Linked DNA regions of Homo sapiens: all the other regions are linked to region 3. The links are contacts of gene promoters, found by promoter capture Hi-C in blood cells and fetal thymus (Javierre and others, 2016). All regions are on one chromosome and are shown on one strand. The core of a region is centred on a gene start or on the middle of the fragment in contact, and the rest is flanking DNA. Distances in the headings are between cores, read along the strand shown.

Region 1 (3,540 bases), core at 1,003-3,502, 3.3 Mb after region 3:
GGATTCTATCTTCTCCTTCTTTTTTCCTCGATGACCTTATGCATTCCCATGTCTTAAAGTGCCACCCATAGGCTAATAATCCCCAATCCAGCTCTGTTCTCCCTTCTCCTGGGCTCTAGATCAGCATCTCAAATCTCCTAGACATCAACACCAGAGTTACCAAAGGTCCCTCAACTGCAAAAGGCTCAAATCAAAATCAAGCTTAAAAAATAAAATAAAATAAAATAAAAAAACTTGTTCCTCCACTTGTAGCATGTAAGTTAATGGTACCAGTCATCTGGTTGTTGAGGTGAGAAACCTGTAACCCTGCCTCTGCATCACCTCTGCCTTTAATCAATTACCAAGTTCTTTCCTTTCTATCATCTATCTTATGGACCCTGGACCCACTGCTTCCCTGAATCACCAGCTCTCACTTCAGAGTCCAAGAAGGACACATCTAATCGCTGTCTAGGCCAAGTGCCAAGACTTGTGCCCAGTCTCCAAGCGGCTGGGAAAGAAAATACTTGGAGATTTCACATCCCATTACAAGTGAGTTCAGTTTCTCACTGAGCCTCAGAATATGAGGAATTCTCCAAAATGAAGACGTCCAGATGACAGCAACACCAAACGTGAAACCATGATAAATGTGTGCACCCCCTGGATTACTGCACAAGCCTTCTCACGGACCGCCCTACTGTCAGTCTTGTCTTCCTCTTTCCCTACCTCTGTCCCGGATCCAGACTGCAATCAGTTATCTCTCAAAAATGTAAGTCTGGTGATGTTTCTCAAGGACTTAACACTCTTCCTTGCCTACTGACTACCCATAACATAAAATGCAAGTTCTCTGCATGGCTCCAGGCCCTCTCTGACCTAACTCCTGCTTTCTAGCCTTATCTCTGGTTATTTTCCCATCTCCAGATAGATTTCTGTTTAGCTGAAATGCTTAGTAGAATTACCTGAGTCTGCCATGTGCTCTCTGGGATCCAAGTCTTAAAATACATATTTGCCAGTATCCTCTTCACCTCCCCGCTCTTCCTCATCCCTCACACATCATTCTTTCAGCTTTCTCTCTTTCACAAAGGTTTCCTGATCCTGACCTTGCTGTTGCTTCTAGGTGCTATCACAGCACTTTGTTTTTCTATACCACTGCAGGATGACTATAGCTAACAATAACATACTCTATAGTTTCAAATGGCTAGAAGGAAGATGTTGAATGTTCCCAACACAAAGAAATCATAAATGTTAGAGATGAATATGCTAGTTGCCCTGATCTGATCACTATAAATTGTACGTATTGAAACATCACTAGGTACCCCATAATTATGTATAATTATTATTTGTCAATTTAAAAAATAAAATACAATTTAAAAAAAGACATACTCAATTATATAAGCTTATTATTTAGTTGTAATTTGTATTAAGTTCCATGAGGGCAAAAACCTTCTCTTTTTCAAGGTCATATCCCCGTCCCTAGCGCACTACCAGGCATGTGGTAGATAGTCCATAAATACACTTCGAGTGGGTAATTCTGGTCCATGTAGTACATCTATCCCAGCTTAGGCTTCACAATTTCGTCATGTCAAGAATCAAAGGTTTTGTTGCAATTATTTCCTTGGATTTTCAGCTTAATCTACCACAGGTTTGGTTGACACAAAATGTTTTTCAATCTCCTTTAGCACTGATTTCAACACAAAAACTGAATTTCTTTCAGGCCATAATAAATAAATAAATAACAAATAAAAAACACAGTAGCTTTCTTTCAAAGAAAAATAAATTTTACAAGAAATGCAATAAATGAAAATATAGTCTGTTGTGCCTTTGGTACACAAACCTACTTTCAGCCCCCGAGTCTCCCCCTCTCCACCTTCATGTCTCTTCTGGATCCATGTTACCTAATGGCTCATCTCCCCACACCTTGTAAGAGTTGATCCTGATCCTGGCTTCCCCTAAAGTTATCTACCATGTGTGCTGACTGAGGGGCCAATTGTACTTCAGAGCTCATTACTGAGAGAAACCAGGCTGCCTTGGTAGGACAAACTATAAAACGTTTTGCAATATACAAAATGGTACTGGGTGTCCTTGCAATAGACACCCAGTACCATTGCTGGATTGGCTCTGGTGGACGTTCCAGGGTCATCTAATTCCACAGGGGTCTATGCCTTTTATTGTCTTTACAATTTTACAACTCTGTAAGTTGGAAAAATCTAAAAACAATGCAAATTATACTGGTGCATAGATATACAAATGATTTTTTTTCTAGTAGAAATGCTATAGTTTTCCACTCTTATGATTCCAAACATTGTATTTTATTGCTCTATAGATATTAACCAGTTTCAAATCTATTACCAACTTCATATCAGCATGCCTGATTGCCTACATGTGTCTCATCTTCAGCGTCTCCTTTGAAATAATTGTAATATATTACTGATTTTTTCAATTGTTAAATAAAAGCTCAAATACATGTTATTTGATTTTTATATATTACTATACCTTTGCCTTTTCAAAATCATACTTTAACTGCCTGTTTCTCATGAAGAAAATACATTCAAGTATTAAAAATACACTGAATATAATTGTTCCTCATATACGAGCCATATCTGAATAACTGGAGACCAGTCAGGATGTTTCTATCCTGCAGCACAGACTGGACAAAGGAATTAGAGTGATATTTGGGTTAGTAAAGTCAGGGAGAATGATGACACCCTCTGAAGGATTAAGGATTTACTTGAAGAAGAGTGCGAAATATGGTTCAGTAGATAGAGTAGGGCTAGCATGTGGTGAATCTAATAATTCAGGCACAAAAAAAGTAACTATCTTTCTAAGAAGACATGTAAGACAAAAGTACAGTATTCCACTTAAGAAGATGGGGTATGTTAACATTGAGTTTCAGGATCTCTGATTAACTACCCTCTGTTAAACAGCAGGTCTATGACTCACTGCATCCAGTGAAGCAGTAGGCTCTTGAGCTGGATTTCTACAACCCCCTCGACTCTTGCATAATGTATTTTGAAATTAGAGATTTTCTTAGATGGGAAGATACTTCTACGCAAGCAACTCAATTCAGTCCTCTGAAGACACACCATTTCTGGGGAATGTCCCACCAAGTTTACTCCTGACTGACACAAGGTAGAAAGTTGAGGTTCACCACATCCAGGAAGCTTCCATTATTCACTCCTAGACTCAGTCTTGTGGCAGACATCACCGCTGATGTTTTCTAGATCGTCCCTCTCAGTACTCTATGAACAATATATAGCAAAAGAATGGCACACTTAGAGTAACAAGGAGTCATTGCTTCACAATATAAAGTTCAAAATGTCAGTGGAATTTAAAGCTGTAATAGCTTACAGATAATGAAATACCTTTTATTTAATTCTGCTGATATTCCCATGTAAGTGTTCTATGCCAGGCCTCTAGTTATCTCATGCCCTTTAAGATTAGATTAGACTCTCATAGCCCCCAGGTTTTTCTCACTTTCCTTAAAAGCCTTATCAAAATTTTATATTATTAACATATTATTTGTTTAATATCTTCTCTATCTCCTCCACTTTACTACCTCCCATG
Region 2 (3,832 bases), core at 302-2,801, 4.6 Mb after region 3:
CCTGAGCTATCCTATCTTCTGTTTTCATAACTGTCTTTGTTCAGACGTTCAAAGACTGGCTCCAACTTAAGATGTTAGAAAAGGCTTAATCTGCCTTGCTGAAAGGCAGTTTTGCATAATAGTTAGGTTGCCTGGGTTGACTCCTGACTCTACTGATTTCCAACCTTAGGCAAGTTACTTAACCTCTCTGTGCTTTGTTTTCTCATCTGCAAAAAGGGCATACAGTGCCTATATCGGGGTTGTTACAAGGAATGTTATTATATGTAAAAATACACAGAACGGTCCTAGCACATAATATACAAATGCTGGCCATTACGGTTATAGTCTCTACAGACTCATCTTCATTTCTGTTATTGTATTTCTAGTTAAGCACATCACTCCACCAAAGCAGTTCTTCACTGCACCTTCAAAAAGAGAATTTTTTCAGCTGTGCCTTTACTCACACACTAGTTCAGCATCTCCATAGCCCTAACAACTAGGATTTAGAACAGCTGTCCCCTTCAGAGGCTACACTTCTTCTTTACCCTGGTCTTCCTAGAATGCATGACCCAATATGAAGGATGCCTATACCGATGGCCCTTTAACAGTTAGTTAAGCCCTCTAAGAATGTCTCACCCTGTCCGATTTATGACACTACCAGAGTAACTTTTCTAAAACTTTAGTTATCACAATGGCACTTCTTTCCTGATTCCCCTTATTGCTACTGTAGTGGTTACAGAACTTCCGAAATCGTAGTAAAGTATGAGAATGCACACACTCTCTCCTCCTCCCCTCTCAGTAGTGCTTTTATGATCAGGTCCCTCTTATTTTCCCATTTCCCTGGCTCCAGCCAAGCCGAACGCTCCGCTACGCCCAAACATCTCCTACAGTTTTATGTCTCAGAATCTTACTTCTCTGCCTTCAAAACCAATTTTCAAAGAGTTGTCTTAAAAGTCTTCTTTAACACCCCCTGGGACTTGTTAAATCCTCCTTCAGTGTTTCCATAGCACTTTCTACACACCAGCGTTATAATCCCAAACAAAAAAGTCACAGTAGAATGCATATTTGCTTGTGCCCCTCCTCCCCAGGCCGAGGGCTCAACAAGCAGCAGGAGCAAGCAGGTTGACCCCCAAATCCGCAGCGCCCCACAGAATGTCAGGTATGTAATCGGTTCCCAATCAATCTGGCTGGGCGAATGAACCATTGGTTGGCTTAATCCGTTTCCCCAGGAAATGCTCCAAGAGGAGCTGGGCAGAAGATGCAGAGGAGCTACTTTCCTGGTCCAACCCCCTGCAGAGCGCGAAACAGCGGCCCTGGGCAGGATCCCCGCAGCAAACCGCAGCCCCTGGACACACAGCAAGCTTAATAGTCACTGGATGAATGAAAAGCGCTGCCTCCTGGTGCCCTGGCTGTCACCCAAAGCGCCCCGCGTAGCCCGCACAGCCTTTCCGGCAGTACCTGCGGCCCCTCTCCGCCGGGCCTGCGCTTCCCGCCACCGCCGACCATTCTGCAGCTGCAGCGCCAGCAGAATTCCCCGATCCGCGGCCGCTTCCGAGCGCCGCCAACCGCTTCCGGGTTCAAAAGCCTCCAAGCCGAATTTCAGCGCCGCCCGGGCTCGCCAATTTAGGGGAAAGGCTCCGCCCATTCCCCGCCCCCTGAGACCTGGCACCGGACGCGTTGAGGCCCCGCCCACTCCCGTGCTGGGCGCGTGCAAGGAGCGTCTTCTGTCAGCGTAGTCTGCATCTAGGCTTTCTGGAGCATCTTCCAGGGTCGCTCCAGAGACCCCCCAGACTACTGAATCTGAATCCTTAGAGTGGTCCAACCTTCCTCTTCAGGTGTCTACTAGAGGCAAGGTTGGATGTATGCGGCTGTTCTCAATACAGCCCCTTCCTTGTTTTTTCTTCATTTATATTTACTTAAAATATTAATCCTTTTCTCCTTCTCCTCCATCCCTCTCCCTACCCTACTGTACGGTTATTGGCTTACACTAATTCATTCCCGATTGTCTCCAAGAAGGAAATAAATGTCTGTCGGTCTCTGTCTCTGTACCGTCGTCTTCTTGGTACAATTTGGACTGTTTTTCCTCTACACCGCTGATATGCAAAGTGTAGTCCCTGAACCAGCGGCCTCAGCATCCTGAGGGAATTTGTTAAAACGCCAAATCTCAGGCCTTACCCAGACTTACTGAATCAATATCTGCATCGCAACAAGATCCCCTGGTAATTCCTATGCACATAAAATTTGGAAGGCACAACTCTCAACTGATGTCCTTGGACCTCCTTCACATCCATCCTGGGAAGGTCTTATTCCTCATTCCTGAGATGAGTTCTCTATTTCCTCAATCTGGGTGTTCCTTTTTCTTGATTATATACCCTCATGTTGTGGAACATATCCGCCAATAGTTCCTTGAGAGAGGTTGCTGCCAGGTCTTTTTTCCCACAGAGTGTGCATGTCTGGAAATGTTTTTATTCTGGCTGAGCACAGTTCTAGGTTGAAAATAACTTTCACTCGGAATATTGGAGGGCTTGCTCCGCAATATTTTAGCTTCCAGAATTGTTAAGAAACTATGTCGTTATATTTCCTTCTCCTTCACAGGTCACTAAATTTCTTGATATGTAACCTGCTTTCCTTTCTGTTTTGTTTTGTCTCAAGAAGCTTTAGGATCTTTTCTCTGTTTCCAGTGTTTTTTGTTTTGTTTTGTTTTGTTTTGTTTTTTTTGAGACGGAGTCTCGCTCTGTTGCCCAGGCTGGAGTGCAGTGGTGCCACCTCAGCTCACTGCAAGCTCCACCTCCCGGGTTCACACCGTTCTCCTACCTCAGCCTCCGGAGTAGCTGGGACTACAGGCGCCCGCCACCACGCCCAGCTAATTTTTTTTTTTTTTGTATTTTTAGTAGAGACGGGGTTTCACCGTGTTAGCCAGGATGGTCTCGATCTCCTGACCTCGTGATCCGCCCTCCTCGGCCTCCCAAAGTGCTGGGATGACGGGTGTGAGCCACCGCGTCCGGCCTATTCCCAGTGTTCTAAAACACTATTGAGTGTCTTGGTTATGGGTCTTTTCTCATTCCTATCGACCAGTTTTTCAATCCTGAAACACATGTTCTTCAGTTATGGGAATTCTTCTGGTATTATTTATTTGATCATTTCTTCCCCCCCACCCCCCATCGTATCTCTTCTTTTTTGAAATTTGTTATTTAGATCGTGGACCTTCTTGGCTGATGTTTTTTCTTACCTGTCTGTCCTATTTTCTATGTCTTCATATTTTTATTCTACTTTCTCTGTGACTTTCTCAACTTAATTGGACAATTACTTAATTTCTTTATTATACTTAATAAAGATTAATTACTTAATTTCTGTATTATACCTTTATTTCTCAGTGCTCTTTTTATTCTCTGTTCTTTTATAGCATTACATTATTTTTCATGAATATAGCTCCTTTTATCTCTGAAGATGTCAATTATAGCGTTTTTAAAAATGCTTTCTACGTAACTCTGCATTGACTTTGATTCTTTTGAGTCTTTTTTGGTTGTTTGTTTGTTTACATTTGGTTCCTGTTGTTTCTGCTAGAGGCATTCTTCATCTTGTGTGGTGATCCTTGCTGTCAATTTATATGTAAAAATGAGGCTCTAAAAAGGTGCTTTGGGGACATAGGCAAGGCTTGTTTACTGCTGGACAAGGTGTAAGATGATGGGGAAAGAACCAGCTGTTTATTTTCTTCTAGAGAGTAATCTTCTAATTACTCACTTTGAGAATATACAGACTTCTTGGAGCCCAATGCAGGAAGGAGGCTGGGAGTCTTAATAATTTCATTATATGCACTGTATTAGTCGGGGTTCTCCAGAGAAACAGAACAAAT
Region 3 (3,402 bases), core at 847-3,346:
CTTTTCTCAGTCACTCGGACTCTAATCCAAGCCATCCTTACCTTTCATCCCAGCTAGGCTAATCTCTTTGCTTGCTCTCTTGCCTCGCTATGCATGTTGCCCATACAGCAATCAGTCATCTTTTTTTTTAAAAAAAACTTTGTATTATGAACTTTTATTTATTTATGAATTTTGAGACGGAGTCTCGCTCTGTTGCCTGGGCTGGAGTGCAGTGGCCCGATCTCGGCTCACTGCAACCTCCGCCTCCTGGGTTCGAGTGATTCTCCTGCCTCAGCCTCCTCAGTAGCTGGGATTACAGGCACCCACCACCACACCCGGCTATTTTTAGAAGAGACGGGATTTCGCCATGTTGGACAGGCTGGTCTTGAACTCCTGACCTCAGATGATCCGCCCGCCTCGGCCTCCCAAAAAGTGCTGGGATTACAGGCGTGAGCCACCGCGCCCGGCCCATTATTATCTTTTAAAACATACACATAAACACACATAAATGATGACCACCCCTATGCACCCAACACTTAGCCTCAAAAATTAACATTTTGCAAATATTCATCTATTCACTTCTCTGTCCTTTTTTTTTTTTTTTTTGAGACGGAGTTTGTTTCGCTCTTGTTGACCGGGCTGGAGTGCAATGGCACGATCTCGGCTCATCGCAACCTCTGCCTCCCTAGTTCAAGCGATTCTCCTGCCTCAGCCTCCCGAGTAGCTGGAATTACAGGCATGCACCACCATGCCCGGCTAATTTTTTGTATTTTTAGTAGAGACGGGGTTTCTCCATGTTGGTCAGGCGGATCTCGAACTCCCGACCTCAGGTGATCGGCCCGCCTCGGCCTCCCAAAGTGCTGGGATTACAGGCGTGAGCCACGGCGCCCGACCTCTGTCCTTCTTTTTGTGGGATATTTTCAAACAAATCCCAGAAAAGTCATCCTTTTAATGATCAGATCAAGCTACTCACCACTTTCTAATTGCTTCTAATCTCAGTAAAAGCCAAGTCCTTTATCACGGCCTGCAAGGCCTGGGTGATCTGTGATTACTCCTCGCCACACCCATTCCTGCCGCCGTCCTCCTGACCTCACTCTGCTTCATTAGAGGGTCTCCCACCCTCGCGGCCCCAGCAAGCATCATCTGGAAAGCTTGTTAAAGCACACGCTGCTGGGCCCCACCCCCAGAGTTTCTGGTTCAGTAGGGCTAAAGTGGGACTGGAAAATTCGCATCTCTAACAAGTTCGCAGGTGCTACTGCTTCCAGCGGGCATACTTGGAGAACCACCAGCTGCACTGTTCTCCTTCCCGTTCCTCAACAAGGCAGGCAGGATCTTGCTTAGCAGTCTCCACGCTGCTCTTCCCTCTGCCCTAGGCATTCTTTGCATTACTCAAAGCCCCTGTTATTCCATCTCTTTAACTCATGCCTTTTGAGAGGCCTTCTCTGACCACTCTTTCTAAAATCTCTTTCCCTCTCCTCATCCTCATTTATGTTTCTTCATGGTAAGCATCACTTACTGTTTCCGTCACCCCGTCTAGATGGACAGCTCCACAAGCAGAAAGACTTGGTTTTGCTGTCACAGCCGCAGCACTAAAACCTTGCTTAGCAGGTGCTCACTTCACTTGTCCAAGGAATGGCTAGCATACTGAGGAGGGAGAGCCTGCTTCCTGCCTGGGACACTGGACAGGCAAATCACTTCTTCTTGCCTCAGTGCCACCCTTTGTAAGGACACTGGTTGGTTATGCCTACCCTTCCCATCTCCCTGGGTACAGGCACAAATGAAAAGAATAACGTGTACACGCCCGCGAAGCAGAGCAGCAAGTGGATACCGAGCATTATTACGCCGTGCGTTCGGCCGCCCTTTTTCTGCACGGAGAACCCCCTCCGCTCCCATTTTCCAGCGCCCCCGTCCCGGCGATCCAGAGACCCGCTGTGGGCGGCCGCCGCCCGCGTCCCGGCCTGCGGGCCAGCGTCTGGGCACGCCCGCCCCGCACCCGGCTGGCGCCCGCCCGCCCGCCTCCAGAAGCAGAAGCGGCAGCGGCAGCGGCAGCAGCAGCAGCAGGAGGAAGGGGAGGCGCCGAGGGAGGGGTACTCGGCCGCCGCGGGAGGCCGCATCGCAGTCCCGTCACAGCGTCGGCGCCGGCCGGGGCCGAACCCGGAAGTGGCCGAGCCCGCGCGCCCGCCGGTCCCGTCGCCGCCGCCCCGCACTCGGGCGAGCGCGGGAGCCGCGCAGTAGACGGAGCGCGCCCGGCCGAGCGGGCCATGGCCGCGGGGGCCGCCGCCGCAGGTGGTGGCGCGCGGTGAGGAGAGCGCGGCGCCCCCTCCGGGGCGGATGGAACGCGGCTCGGCGGGCGGGCAGTGCCGGCGTCCGCGGCTGGAATGGTGCTGGCTGTGTTGGTCGGTGCCTGCGTTCTGAAGCCCGAGAGGAGCCACAATGGAGACGCCGCCGCTGCCTCCCGCGTGAGTGAGCGGGCGGGCGGGCTGCGCCGCTGCGGATAAGCGCGCCGCTGCGGCGCGTGTCGCCGGCCGCGGGCGCAGCTCTGGGGACAGCCGCCGGGGCCGGCGGGAGGTGGGAGATGCGGGGCGTGACGAGGCGCTGTGCCCGCAGTCCTGAGCGGACGCGGACGGAAACTCAGCCTGGCCAGGCGGTGACTTAAAACGCTGCCCAGGATTTCTGGGGAAGGGTCTTCCCCATCTCGGGCGGATAGAAGATTCGGGGTGGGGCTGTGCATGGGTGACCCTGCAGGTCCTGTGTGTACCTCCCTGAAATGCATGGGCACCTGGTGCCGAGTTTGCCTACCCCTTTATAAGAGATCAGGCTAGGATGCACTGAGTCCGTTGAAAAAAGGAAACTGGAAAGTACCAGTCACCCGCTGTCTAAATGAATTGATCTTAGGTTGCTTGATTCCCCGAATTTCTAACAAAATTAATATCTGAGGAGCTTTTGCATCACTCTAAATGAGCGGCGGCCGTTCAGGGCATGTGACCTCTTTTACCTGGCACTGCAGAACGTTTTATCCAGAAATCAGCATCTTCTGTTTCGTTCGTACCTCGGGCAAATTAGTAGCGTATCGACCTGCCAGGCACAGGTGTCTTTTTTCTTTGGTACCCAAGTACATTCAAGATCACTGGCAACAGAATTACTTTCTAGAAATAATAGCTGAAACATTATGTAGAAGACATTATTGCATTATTCAGAACAAGGGTTTTTTTTTTAAATTTTAGTTTTTAGTTTTAAAAACATCTTGGTAAAAGTGAACTGTAAATACCCAGGAGTTTCGAAAATTTCAATTTTGGTTCCCTCTTCTCTTAGGAAGGAACAAGAGTCCTTTGAATCTGACTTTTCAAATCGCAGACAAACCTCATCCTGAAGAATGGTTTACCTTTTCATGAGAGCTTATTCATGGAGGCTTGTCGTTCTCCG

Evidence for each region. The method cuts DNA at HindIII sites, captures the fragments that hold promoters and counts their contacts. A CHiCAGO score of 5 or more calls a contact.
Region 1: a contact is called between a fragment that was not itself captured here and the fragment with the promoter of KLHL2 in region 3, in 1 of 17 cell types (activated CD4 T cells). The highest score is 7.1, in activated CD4 T cells.
Region 2: the fragment with the promoter of HPF1 here is called in contact with the fragment with the promoter of KLHL2 in region 3 in 3 of 17 cell types (total B cells, non-activated CD4 T cells and activated CD4 T cells); the score reaches 9.2 in total B cells.

The regions. Positions count from the first base shown.
Region 1 is chr4:168,506,954-168,510,493 of GRCh38, forward strand. The region is part of intron 1 of PALLD (palladin, cytoskeletal associated protein); the gene reads left to right. All of the region lies in intron 1 of LOC107986198 (a long non-coding RNA gene), which reads right to left. Among named protein-coding and RNA genes, the nearest start is that of PALLD, 12 kb to the left of the region's middle. The HindIII fragment of the contact is 1,765 bases long and covers 1,371-3,135 here.
Region 2 is chr4:169,756,393-169,760,224 of GRCh38, forward strand. It overlaps HPF1 (histone PARylation factor 1), which reads right to left and starts at 1,552. Exons shown (of 8, transcript NM_017867.3): 1 at 1,438-1,552. The coding sequence starts at 1,485. It overlaps LOC107986240 (a long non-coding RNA gene), which reads left to right and starts at 1,671. Exons shown (of 3, transcript XR_001741529.2): 1 at 1,671-1,832. RefSeq lists an enhancer at 1,400-1,469. The HindIII fragment of the contact is 1,294 bases long and covers 1,339-2,632 here.
Region 3 is chr4:165,205,465-165,208,866 of GRCh38, forward strand. KLHL2 (kelch like family member 2) reads left to right here and starts at 2,097. Exons shown (of 15, transcript NM_007246.4): 1 at 2,097-2,438. The coding sequence starts at 2,413. RefSeq lists an enhancer at 1,718-2,218 and a silencer at 1,749-2,398. The HindIII fragment of the contact is 2,287 bases long and covers 1,129-3,402 here.